Regions from separate parts of the Homo sapiens genome. Here regions 2, 3 and 4 are each linked to region 1. Evidence: promoter capture Hi-C in 16 types of primary human blood cells and fetal thymus (Javierre and others, 2016). All regions are on one chromosome and are shown on one strand. Each heading gives the region's core, a stretch centred on a gene start or on the middle of the fragment in contact. The rest is flanking DNA. Distances are from core to core; before and after follow the strand shown. Region 1 holds the start of SEMA5B (semaphorin 5B). Region 2 has its middle 75 kb from the start of SEC22A. Region 3 overlaps SLC49A4 (solute carrier family 49 member 4). Region 4 has its middle 3.8 kb from the start of LINC02035.

Region 1 (2,668 bases), core at 94-2,593:
GAACTACCCAAAGACTGGGCTCGAGGTGGGGGGCGGGGGCGGGGAGGAGGGGGCCAGAACGGCGCTGCAGGTGATCCTCCTCCTTGTTTAAAGTTTGCGGTGGGCAAAGGAGTCGGCTCCGTTGGGCCGGGTTTTCTCGAGCCTCGCCTTCTTCCTCCGCCGGTCCGGCGACCACTTCCCTCTTGGCTCCCGCCCCGCGCGGGTCCCCGATCCCCTCTCCCGTCTGCATCCCTCTCTGTGCCCGAGCGCCCCCCGCTCCCTCCCTCCTCGCTGGATCTCCCGCAGGACGTGAGCGGAAAGTGAATGGGCAGCCCCAACCACAAAGACAAATTACCATGAGAAACATAAATCGGGAAATCGCCGCTCGCGTCCCTGCTTCCAGCTGCCGCACCCCTCTCCACCCTCCCAGCCGGGAGTGCGGGGCCCTGAGCCACTGCCCCTGGAGCCTGGTGGGCAGAGTTCACGCTCCGCAGGCCTGGTCAGGGCAAGAGTGTCCTGGAGGCGGGTCTGGGAAGAATCCGGGCGGCGGCTCCGCAGGCGGCGGCGGTGGAGCAGGGACGTCCCTGAGCGGGAGATTTCACACTCTGGGCGGGCCACGCGTTCCCACGCGCCTCGCCGCCCGCACTCTCCCTCAGTGCTGTTTACTAGCCGGCCCTCTCTGAGCCTCCATCTCCGCACCTCTGTCCCTCCGTCCCTCAGCCTCACTCGTCCGTCTCCTTCTCCAGGCCTGGGTCCCGGGTCCCCATCGCCGCTGCAGCCCAGATGCGCCGACCACAGCCCTGGCAGGGCCCAGTGCAACCCGGACCCAAGCTGGCTGGCGGCGGGAACGCAGCAGCGATGAGGGCTCTCAAGCCGAGGTGGCAGCGGGAGGCGCGGAAGCCAGGGGACCCCCTGTCCTCCCGCCCGCAGCCTCACCTACCTGGCTTCAACTTGCCAGAGCCCGGACCCCTACCTCTCTACCCCGATACCCACCCGAGTTGCTGAAGTTTGCAAGTTGCAGCCCCAACCCGCGCAGGGGAAGCGCCCGGGGCTCCCGGGACTCACCTCCCAGAGGCGGGTGCAGGTGCCCGGTTCCCCGCGGCTCCCGACTCCCGGGCGGCGCGGAGCGGCGGGAGCTAACCAGATGGGCTGGCGGCCGGTCTGGGAATGGGGCGGCCGCGCAGGAACGGCCTCCAGCTCTCAGCGCTCCGGTGCAGTCCCCACCCGGGCCCGCGCCCGCTGCGCTCGGGCTCCCAGCAGCCGCTGGATGCGCTGCCGACCCGCCCGGCTCGGCGGAGCTGGGCTCTGGCACCAACCCCCGCGCTCCAACTAGCTCCCGACCCGGCGCTCGGAGAGAGCAGGGAGGAGGAGACCGCGGGAGCAGAAGGAGGGAGGGGGCGGTGGGGGAGGAGTTGCAAGCAAAGGGAGAGAAGGAGGGGAGCGGGAGCGAAAAAGAGGAGGGGGCTGGAGCAGACCTGCCGCGGCGGGCGCTGCACCCGCCAGCCTCGAGGCGCGCGGAGGAGCGCGAGGGGGCGCCCTGCATCCCGCGGCTGCTCGGCCGACTCCCGCCCCGGGCCTGCCGAGTGTGGTGACCAGCCCGGTGGGCCGAAGCCCCTTCCCCGGCCGGCATTCCGGCGGCAAGACCTAGGACTCCGAGCACTTGCCGCCGTTTGCCACATCCCGCCTTGCCGTTCTCGGTCACCCCATCTCGAATGTGACATCCCCGAGGGCCATCGGCGCGGCCTGCCCACCCCAACACTCAGGGCCTGAGGAAGCTCCCCCAAACCCCACTCCGGACTCCCACATTCCCCAGCCCCGTCAGTTCGGAACGATCTTCCTGCCTGTGGATTTGAAGGGGAAGGGACCTCGTGTAAAACGGGGGAGAGCCGTTATAACCTGCAGCGGCAGAGAGGGAGGCTAGGCTGCTGGGCTGGGCTGGAAAGCCAGAACTGGCCGGATTAGGGTTAACCTTGCAAACTGTACGATACCGAGCGAACCTCTCCAAGCCTCAGTTTCCTCAGCTGTAAACTGGGGTTAGTAATACGCACCCTACAGAATTGTGAAGAACGAGTAGGGGATACGGGGAGTAAAATAACATCAGGAACAGTGGGAGGGCAGCCAAGAGATGAGCGATCCGGGGAGGTGGTGGAGCGTTCTCAGCTGAGGACGGAAGGTTTAGCGCAATCACAAGGAGCGAGGCCGAATTGTTTACAAGTTTAAGTGATCTAGTGTTTCTGATGGCTAGAAGGCGGGAGAGAAAGATTCAAGGGGCAAGCTTCAAATCCTAGCTGCCCGGGCTGCAAGAGGGATGGGAAGGGAGCCCTCTGCTGAACAAAAAATATATTTGAAAATGTAAAAAAAGGTGACCTAAGAACGAGTGAGAAAGACAAAGGATTTGAAAAATTAAAACCAGGAAAGTGTGATTCTAAGAGATAACCAAAGAGAACTATGAAATAAAAATAGATAAGTTGGAGGAAGGAAAATATCAAAAGACTTTCTAGAGTATGCCAAAAATTGGATAATTAGAACAAAGTCTGAGTGAAGCATTTTACATAATAAAATTCTGGGTAAAGGAAAACCCAGATAAAGCAGAAGAATTGAGACACTAAGAGCCCCAGAGAAGCACCTCCTGCCTGCCATCCTCCTACCCCTGGACCATGGCAAGAAGCAGTTTGACAGGATAATGGGA
Region 2 (2,668 bases), core at 75-2,574, 250 kb after region 1:
TGGGGGTCCTGTGAAGTGCTAAAATGAACAGAATTCTCGATTTTCACACATTTACATGTTATGATTGTGCCTTGGATCCTTACCTTGTACCAGCTTTCAAAGGCTTCCATTTCAGGATTTGGGGGGATTTGTGTAGGTGTGGTTAATAAAGGATTTTGTTTTCATAGGTAAGAATCCTAAGCTGAAAACAAGTATTAAGCTTGAAAATCATTTGAGACAAATGCCTTAAGACATGGAGAACCTTTACCCAATTCTGTATTACAGAATTATAAGATTGAAAGTGAGTGTGCTATCCTTGGATTGGCACATTTATATTGCAGTAAATGTCTCCACAGTGGAATCTAGTGTGGAGAGATGGACAGCTCCATTTCTGTTAGGCCACGTGTGGAACCCCATTAGACTCCTACTTCATCAGGGCTCCACAGAGACCAGAAGTTTGTCATAAAGGACCTAACCTCCGTGGCTTCTGAGGTCAGCTGCTCCCCTAAAAGGCAATTGCTTGGCCTTCATTTCAAAAGGTTTACTAAGTGACCTAAGGTCATACTCTGAGCTGTTGGGTTTCCAAGGAACTCAACAAAGGTTGTGTGTGTGTGTACACCTTCCTTGTTACTATTTTAACAGACTTTTGGCTCACTGTAAGAGTTAGAACTTCTGTGGAGTGTGTGGTAAAAGAACACATACGTTCAAGAGCAGCCACCACTCAAAACCTCATTGAACACTTAGCCTTAACCACAAGTTATAGGTCACTCTTTAGGGCCACATTCTTTGTCTGTGTTCAATGCTTTATAGTATTTTTCTGCCTTATCTCTAAGGAACCAAAGTCTTTCTCCCTAAAAATGCTGTGGTAAAGTAAGGTCTGATTTTAGGGTTAAATTGGCTTTAGTAATAACCTCGCTAAAAGTTAACAAAAGAAACCCAGCTCCAAGGGTTGTGACTGAGTTTGTGTAAAAGGGCTGAGTGAGCCGAGAATGTCACTCTGAGCATTACCGGTAAGGTTGGAGGTGTGTGATCATTAATGTTCTGGGGCTGCTGTTGAATGCTGGCAGATTGCGGCCTCCTGTTTAAGCATCGAGTTTTTCAAAGAGAAAAACTGGCTGCCACTCTTGTCTCTTTCTTGAGTGGCTGAGTTTTCTAGGTTATTTAGTAGATGAAATCAAAAGAAACGTGGAAACACTGTGTGGTTGGAAGCCACGTGGCGCATATGCTCCTGCTTGTTAACAGTGAGTGGTGTTGATGCGTGGGCATTCAGGTTTCTTCTGCGTTGGCAATGCTGATGTGTAATCAGTCGTCTCAGCACAATTGGGGGTTTTAGGAAACTCAGAGATCAGCCTTAGTTCTCAGAGTTTTTGAAATCAATATCCTAGCCTTATGAATTGTTCCTTGTGTTTCCTTGGCAACAAACAGTATTTTCAGCCCAAACCCACCCACGGTTTACATTCACCCCTTTCTCCTGCATCTCACAGCACAGCCATACAAGCATCACCCAACAGAAAGCACATTCAGGCACCATCTGACAACGGGAAGCAGGACTCAGGCATTCCACTCCCCATTTGTTCCTGGTGTCCCCTCCCCAGCTCTGCCTTGCTTGCTTACCTTCTTTGTGCCAGCACTTTTCTTTGAGGTTGGGTTGCAAAGGACCTTGCCTAAAGATGAACAAAGTATTTCATTCTTGCACTTTGAATCTCTCCAGTGCCTAGGACTAATGAGGAGAATGCTTGTTAGCTCATTTTGTGGGCCAGTGCTGGGTTCTCCTTAGTTCATCCTTATGGCAGCATGAGGTGGAGCGGGCACGATCTCATTTGCATTTGAGGAAACCAAGACTCAGGCCAGGAACTTGTCTTCGTATGGTATGACACTTGGTGGTGGATGTGAAGTTCAAATTTGGAGTTGGGTTTAAGTCGCTTGAAAGTTGGTGCTCATTTTTCTGTGCCACAGTGCATCTCAGAAAGACACTTCTTAGGGAATGTGTGTGTGACTGACGACAGCTGGGTTCTTACTGTTTTAGCAGCAGTGTGAACAGATGAAGCAGACAGGAAGGGGGAAATGGCAATGTATACTGTGTGACAGGCACTATGCTAAGCATCTCATCTTTACCGAAAGCATTTATGAAGGTTTTCTCTTTTAAAAATGAGCCACCTGGGCCATGAAGAAGTTAAGTGACTTGACCACAGTCACAACCTAACCCATGTGGTAGCATCAGGATTTCAGTCCAGATCTGACTCAGAACTCATGCTCTTAACCACCATGTGATTTTAAGCTGGATAACATGGAAATACGTTTAAATATATAAGGAATATATGTAAAGGTAATATACATTACTTTTAAATAAGACATCAGGTCAGTGCTAACTCCTACAGTATAGATGTCCCAGGTTGAATAAAATAGTTTCCTAAAATCTCTACATTTATAACAATGACATAGGACAGACAGGTGGCTGCAAGATGTATGGTGAAGCTTATGTATACCTTAGCTATTAGGGCAAGAAGTATACATTTTAGTACTTGTACTAAAACTAACATATAAATTAATCTTGATGTGGAAAATAAAAGCATTATTGGTGATTTGGGTGTTACAAACATTTGCTTTTCCTAGCAAAATGCCAGAATAGGTTGATTCTTTGACTTGATGTCATTTAATGGGAATTCTGTTAGGTGATTAGGGAATTTGT
Region 3 (2,668 bases), core at 64-2,563, 220 kb before region 1:
TTCGAGAGATACTGGTCTACAGATTAAGGTGTAAGAATGGGATATAAAAAGATGAGGTTAGAAGGTTATATTTTGATTCTGAAGGGTCTTGATGCCATCCTGTATTATTAACAGTGTACTTTACTCACTGGATAGTGGAAAACCCCTTAGGCTCTTAATCAGAGGAGTGCTAGTATCAGACCTATGTTATATTCACTATGGATTGAGATATGTAGGCTTGATTATAAGGGGTAGAGATTGCTGGCAGAAGACCTGGAAAGATACAGTGGGACCCCAAGCTGAAGTCATTCTTTTGTTGGTTCATTTATTAGGTCATTCATTCATTCAACAGAATTCACTGAGCTTCTACTATGTGCCAACCTCTTTGTGGGCATTGGGAATATGACAGAAGACAAAGCAGATAAAAATTACTATGTAATGTAGTAAATTACATAGTATATTACATAGTACATAGTAATTTACTATATAATGTACATTACATGACATACTATGTTTGTGATGTAGTTTCATTCCACTCAGGGAAACCAGCAATAAACTAGATAAATAAGTAAAATACATAGTATGTGCTATGGAGAGTAAAACAAAATAGGAAAGAAGGATATGAAAAGGCGAGGAAAGGATGGTGAGATTTCAGAAAGAAAAACCTAACTGGGAAGATAACCTTTTGGGATAAAAACCTGACAGAAGTAATGGATGATGCAGTATCTAGGAATCAAGCATTATATGCAGAGAGAACCGCAAGAGTTCAGGGTGGAAGAGGGACAGGGATGCCTGGCAGGGAGGCTGGTGTGGCATGAGAAAAGCAGGTAGCAAATGAGGTCAGAGCGGTTACAGAGTGGTAGTGGGAGGGTGGGACCAGATTCTTTAAGACCACGTCAGCTCCTCAGCTTTTTCTGAGCTAGGAAACCACTGGAGGTTTTGAGCTGAGAGTGCCATGGTGCTCGGCTGCTCCTTTGAGAATGGACTGAAGCTTGAGGTCATGGGCATAAGTAAGGAAAGTTGGGAAACAAGTGCAATAAACCAGGTGAGAGATGATGGTGGCTTGGACCATAGTGGTGGCAGTGGGAGTGGTGAGAAGTGGTCAAATTCTGATCATCTTGAATATTCAAAATGTAATTATATTCTGATTATATTCTGGTCCATTTGCTGATGGACCAGATGTGGGAAGTAAGAGAAAGGAGTCCAGAATGATTCCATGCTGTGGGAAGTTGGGGGAATGGAAAGGATGGCACAGACATGAGGGGAAGTGTGAGAAAAAGAGATGGGAGGTGATATGCTGGAAGTTTCACTCGAGGGACTCTGAAATTGTTGATTCCATTAACAGATGGGGAACACAGAAGTGGGGGAGAGTGGATTTCAGGGACAAGATGTTGACTTTCTTTTGGAACAGAATTTTTCAGTTTCAAAATAAATGTTCAGTTTTGAATTTCAAAATGTGTTTTCTTTCTAGAAAATTTAGGGTACAAGGGTTCATGTTTGAAAAGGGAGATAAGACAATCATCTAGGTTCCTATGGAAAGCTAGTCATAATTTTCCATCCTTCTCAGTTAGATTTTAACACAAGTCTCATTATTGTATTTGAGATGCTCTTAATTTTTCAAACACCCAGAGGTGTGTTTTTTCAAGCATCCACAGATTTTAAGTACAGATTTTCATGTAAGCTTAAATTCAACACTGCTTTCTTTTAAAATGCCTATTAAGGCCAGGTGCAGTGGCCCACACCTGTAATCCCAGCACTTTGGGAGGCTGAGACAGGTGGATCTCTTGTGCCTGAAGTTTGAGACCAGCCTGGGCAACACAGCGAGACCCCATCTCAAAAAAAATACCTATTAATATTTTTGCTAGTTTTTCTTCTGTTTTGGGCCATCCATACTATTACTTGCCTCCAGTCTCATATCCCTTTATATCCTTTCCATATACAAAATTCTGGGAATAATAGAGTTGACCCTCCATCTTGTTGGAGAAGGTGGTATGAAAAAGAAACAATTCATAAATAAATGTAAACAAATGTAGAACAGGTAAGAAGTAGAAATAAAAAGTTCAGAGATTGAATCTTTCATAAAAAGAGTGTATAAATTGAATTTTCAATCTTATACATTCATCTATAAAGAATACAGGAGTATTAACCCCTTGAAATAAGACTTCATTTCGTAGTCTTTAAGCATATCTTTTAAGCAGTGTTGTTAACAATGCATGATGAAGCTGTTAAAATGAAAATGCTACAATTGGAACATGTATTTTCAACAAATCAGGTGTATAGCCATCACTTTTAAGCTTCAGTCTCCATCCGATGTTCCAGGGAAGGCCAGTGTTGAAACAAGCATTTACAAGTCTGTGTTTTTGTGGCCTTGTTTCACTCGGAGCTTTTTGAGCTTTTGACCCAGCCTTTTGGAATGGCTCCCCTGCACCCTTGACTTCCTGTATCTTAGCTCCCTTAAGTATCAAGACATGAGAATAGCAGCATTCTGACAAGCTCTTCCTAATGGTGTTCTACTTATATATAGTATCAGTATTTATTTTATTTGCATAGTACTGATGAAAACTCAGGAAAAAATTATTTTGCCACGTTTTTCTTATAACATCTTAGATAAATAAGGAACTTGGTATAACAAATTATAAAGCATTTTTTCTTCTATGATCTCGAACAAAATAATACCCCAAAAAAATTG
Region 4 (2,668 bases), core at 90-2,589, 150 kb before region 1:
GATTATAGGCGTGAGCCACCACACCAGGCCAAGAAGGCGGATTCCTTGAAGATGATTCAAAGCCAGCCATTAAGGATATCCGTAGACCATGACCCGGATGCTAAATAAGCACCACCCCTTCCTGTTCAGAGGGAAGAGAGAAAGGAGAGGGAAGAATTATAAGGTATTTGGTTTTAGTCCGAACTATTATGTTTGAGGATGTTGTGGTATAACATTCTGCAATAGTAAGATTTCTTGTGTAGAACATTTTAATTATGGTTAATTGCACTTTTTTTTTTTAAGGGACAGGATCTCAGTATGTTGCCCAGGCTGGACTCAAACTCCTGGGCTCAAGTGATCCTCCTACCTCAGCCTTCCGAGTAGCTGGGACTACAGGCATGCACCACCACACCAGGCTTAATTCTTCTTTTAACACAAAGTAGAATAACACTCTAAAAGTATTACCTAAATGACTAATTAGTTCAAAACATCCCAAGTGGTAGTGATTAAAAATTCTTGCATTGTTCAGAATTCTTGTTTTTAGAATACATGAGGTGAGACGAGTCCCTGTACTTTGTTTGTATGTGCTTACCCCTCCAGCAGGTAATTGTTCTAATTATAAACTGCAACTGTTTTAAGTGATCAAAAATTTCATATACCAAACCTGACAGGAAGGGAACCAAAAGGCTTGGGGGTGGGGAGAAGATTACACATCATTTACTTGAATATTGCAAATCATATTTTCTTTTTGTTTTTATTTCTATCATGCATCAAAATAGACCAGCTGCTTTCTTTGCACTTTCTAACCATTATAGAATCCTAATGAAATGTTACAGCTGAAAGAAATCTTAACCCTTCACTAATCCAAACCCTCATTTTAGAATTTATAGAAATGATTCTAGAGAGGTAAAGTACAACTGAGGCTCACAGTTTCTGACTCCTAAACCAGGTGTTTTTTTCCTACCTCACAGAAGCTTAATTTAGACCATTTTGGGTGTGCATGAATACCTTCATGTTAAAAAATGATAGGGCTTTAACAGTAAGCTTCCATTATTGAGTATGGGAAGTACAAGGATTAAGTTAAGGTGATTATTTGGTTTATAAGTAAAATTCTTTTTTCTCCATCACTATCCTGAAGATGCTCTGTCAGCTCTTAGCCCTTGGGTTGTAATGACATCATGTAAAAAGATTCTGATGAATAATTCAATCCCATAAACCAAGTCAACACCAATATTAATTGGTAAGGACATGCTGTAGTGCAGGTTCCCTGTGGCTTATCAATTAATACTTCACAGTTTATGGGAAGAAGCATTTTTTAATATGATCCCTGGTGGAGGTATAGGAACAAGACAGTTGTATACACAAATGCATTTCACTGGAGGATGGAGCTAATTACGAGAGAATCAAATACAAATGTAATTTTGTATATTTAAATATATATGGCCTGAGGGCCAAGTTTTTTCGTAGATCATGTACTCATGTTTAATTATGGAGAATGTTTACAGCTTGTTTTTATGAAGCCCTTCTAATGAGAGATCTAAGCTAAGGGATTTTAAATTGAAGAGGTTAAATCCCCATCTACTTAACTTTTAATTAGTTTTTTGTTTGTTTGTTTGTTTGTTTGTTTTTTACTATTTTACTAAAATCCAGGCATTCATCTTACTGTTTGCATAAGTACAAGCTTCACTTTAGGCTCAAGATTGAATAAAAATGCATAGCAAATTTGCTTTAAATTAATGTTTAAAAAATCACATTGCACATTTGTCCCTGAAATAAGTACAGAAATTACTATCATTTTGCCATATTAAGGCAAGTACTAAAGCTGTGATATGAAGAAAATGTCATATTAAAAAAGAAATGCAGGAAACTATGAGAACATTTTATCAAGCCTATTTTATGAATATCGGAGAAAAATGCAATTCCACTTTGATTTGGAATTATATTCATGCAGAAGGGACAAGATAGTTTATTTCTTTACTATCAGACAGTGTGCTGGTCTGTTAGGAAATGTGAGCAATACTCAGAGGGAATGTTTCTGGGTGTCAGAAAGTCAGTTCAAGAAAGTGGAACAGGACTTTACAGTGGGCTGTGGGGTACTTTGTGCTCAGTAGAGGCGGGGTGGCCTGCTCACTCAGCAGACATCTTGGCTCTCGAGCTCATTTCCTCACGTGTCCTTCTGGTTCAGATGGAACCTCAAACTTAGGAGAGGATTCCAGGAACTAATACAGAGGCCCGTAGGGGTCCCTTGGAGGGTGTCATCTCTGGCCAGGGGGATGGGAGTGATACAGGCAGTTACATGGCCCTCAGTCTCTCTGATTTACATTTGTTTGTGGTCAGGATTTAGATCACTTTATGATTTTCTGAGGCTCTGACTCGTCAGATACCTTTCTCAACCCTTGGATGAATCTGACCTCAGCTCTGTCCCTGAGACCTTCCACTTTCTTGAACTGACTTTCTGACACAGGCTTCTTCACCCTCAACCCCTCTCCAGGATCCCCAGCAGAAATCCATTCTCATTCCCGAATAGGAAATAAGGCCATACGCTCAGAGTTTCCTCTCCTGAACGAGACGCTAGCAAGCTCAGAACATGAGTAAGCCCAGGTGCTCCAGAAAGATTTAACAGGTCTTCTCACAGCTAAGCTTTAGAAGTTCGAGTATTTCCTTGATATGGGAATTTCAAAGGTCTCTA

Evidence for each region. Contacts are between HindIII fragments. The CHiCAGO score rates a contact against its expected background, and 5 or more counts as called.
Region 2: a contact is called between a fragment that was not itself captured here and the fragment with the promoter of SEMA5B in region 1, in 1 of 17 cell types (megakaryocytes). The highest score is 5.1, in megakaryocytes.
Region 3: a fragment that was not itself captured here is called in contact with the fragment with the promoter of SEMA5B in region 1 in 1 of 17 cell types (M2 macrophages); the score reaches 6.1 in M2 macrophages.
Region 4: a contact is called between a fragment that was not itself captured here and the fragment with the promoter of SEMA5B in region 1, in 2 of 17 cell types (M2 macrophages and M0 macrophages). The highest score is 8.0, in M2 macrophages.

The regions. Positions count from the first base shown.
Region 1 is chr3:123,026,420-123,029,087 of GRCh38, forward strand. It overlaps SEMA5B (semaphorin 5B), which reads right to left and starts at 1,344. Exons shown (of 23, transcript NM_001031702.4): 1 at 1,045-1,344. RefSeq lists an enhancer at 1,948-2,455. The HindIII fragment of the contact is 2,453 bases long and covers 1-2,252 here.
Region 2 is chr3:123,275,345-123,278,012 of GRCh38, forward strand. No RefSeq gene overlaps it. Among named protein-coding and RNA genes, the nearest start is that of SEC22A, 75 kb to the left of the region's middle. The HindIII fragment of the contact is 2,255 bases long and covers 198-2,452 here.
Region 3 is chr3:122,807,741-122,810,408 of GRCh38, forward strand. The region is part of intron 2 of SLC49A4 (solute carrier family 49 member 4); the gene reads left to right. Among named protein-coding and RNA genes, the nearest start is that of SLC49A4, 14 kb to the left of the region's middle. The HindIII fragment of the contact is 690 bases long and covers 969-1,658 here.
Region 4 is chr3:122,881,395-122,884,062 of GRCh38, forward strand. No RefSeq gene overlaps it. Among named protein-coding and RNA genes, the nearest start is that of LINC02035, 3.8 kb to the right of the region's middle. The HindIII fragment of the contact is 637 bases long and covers 1,022-1,658 here.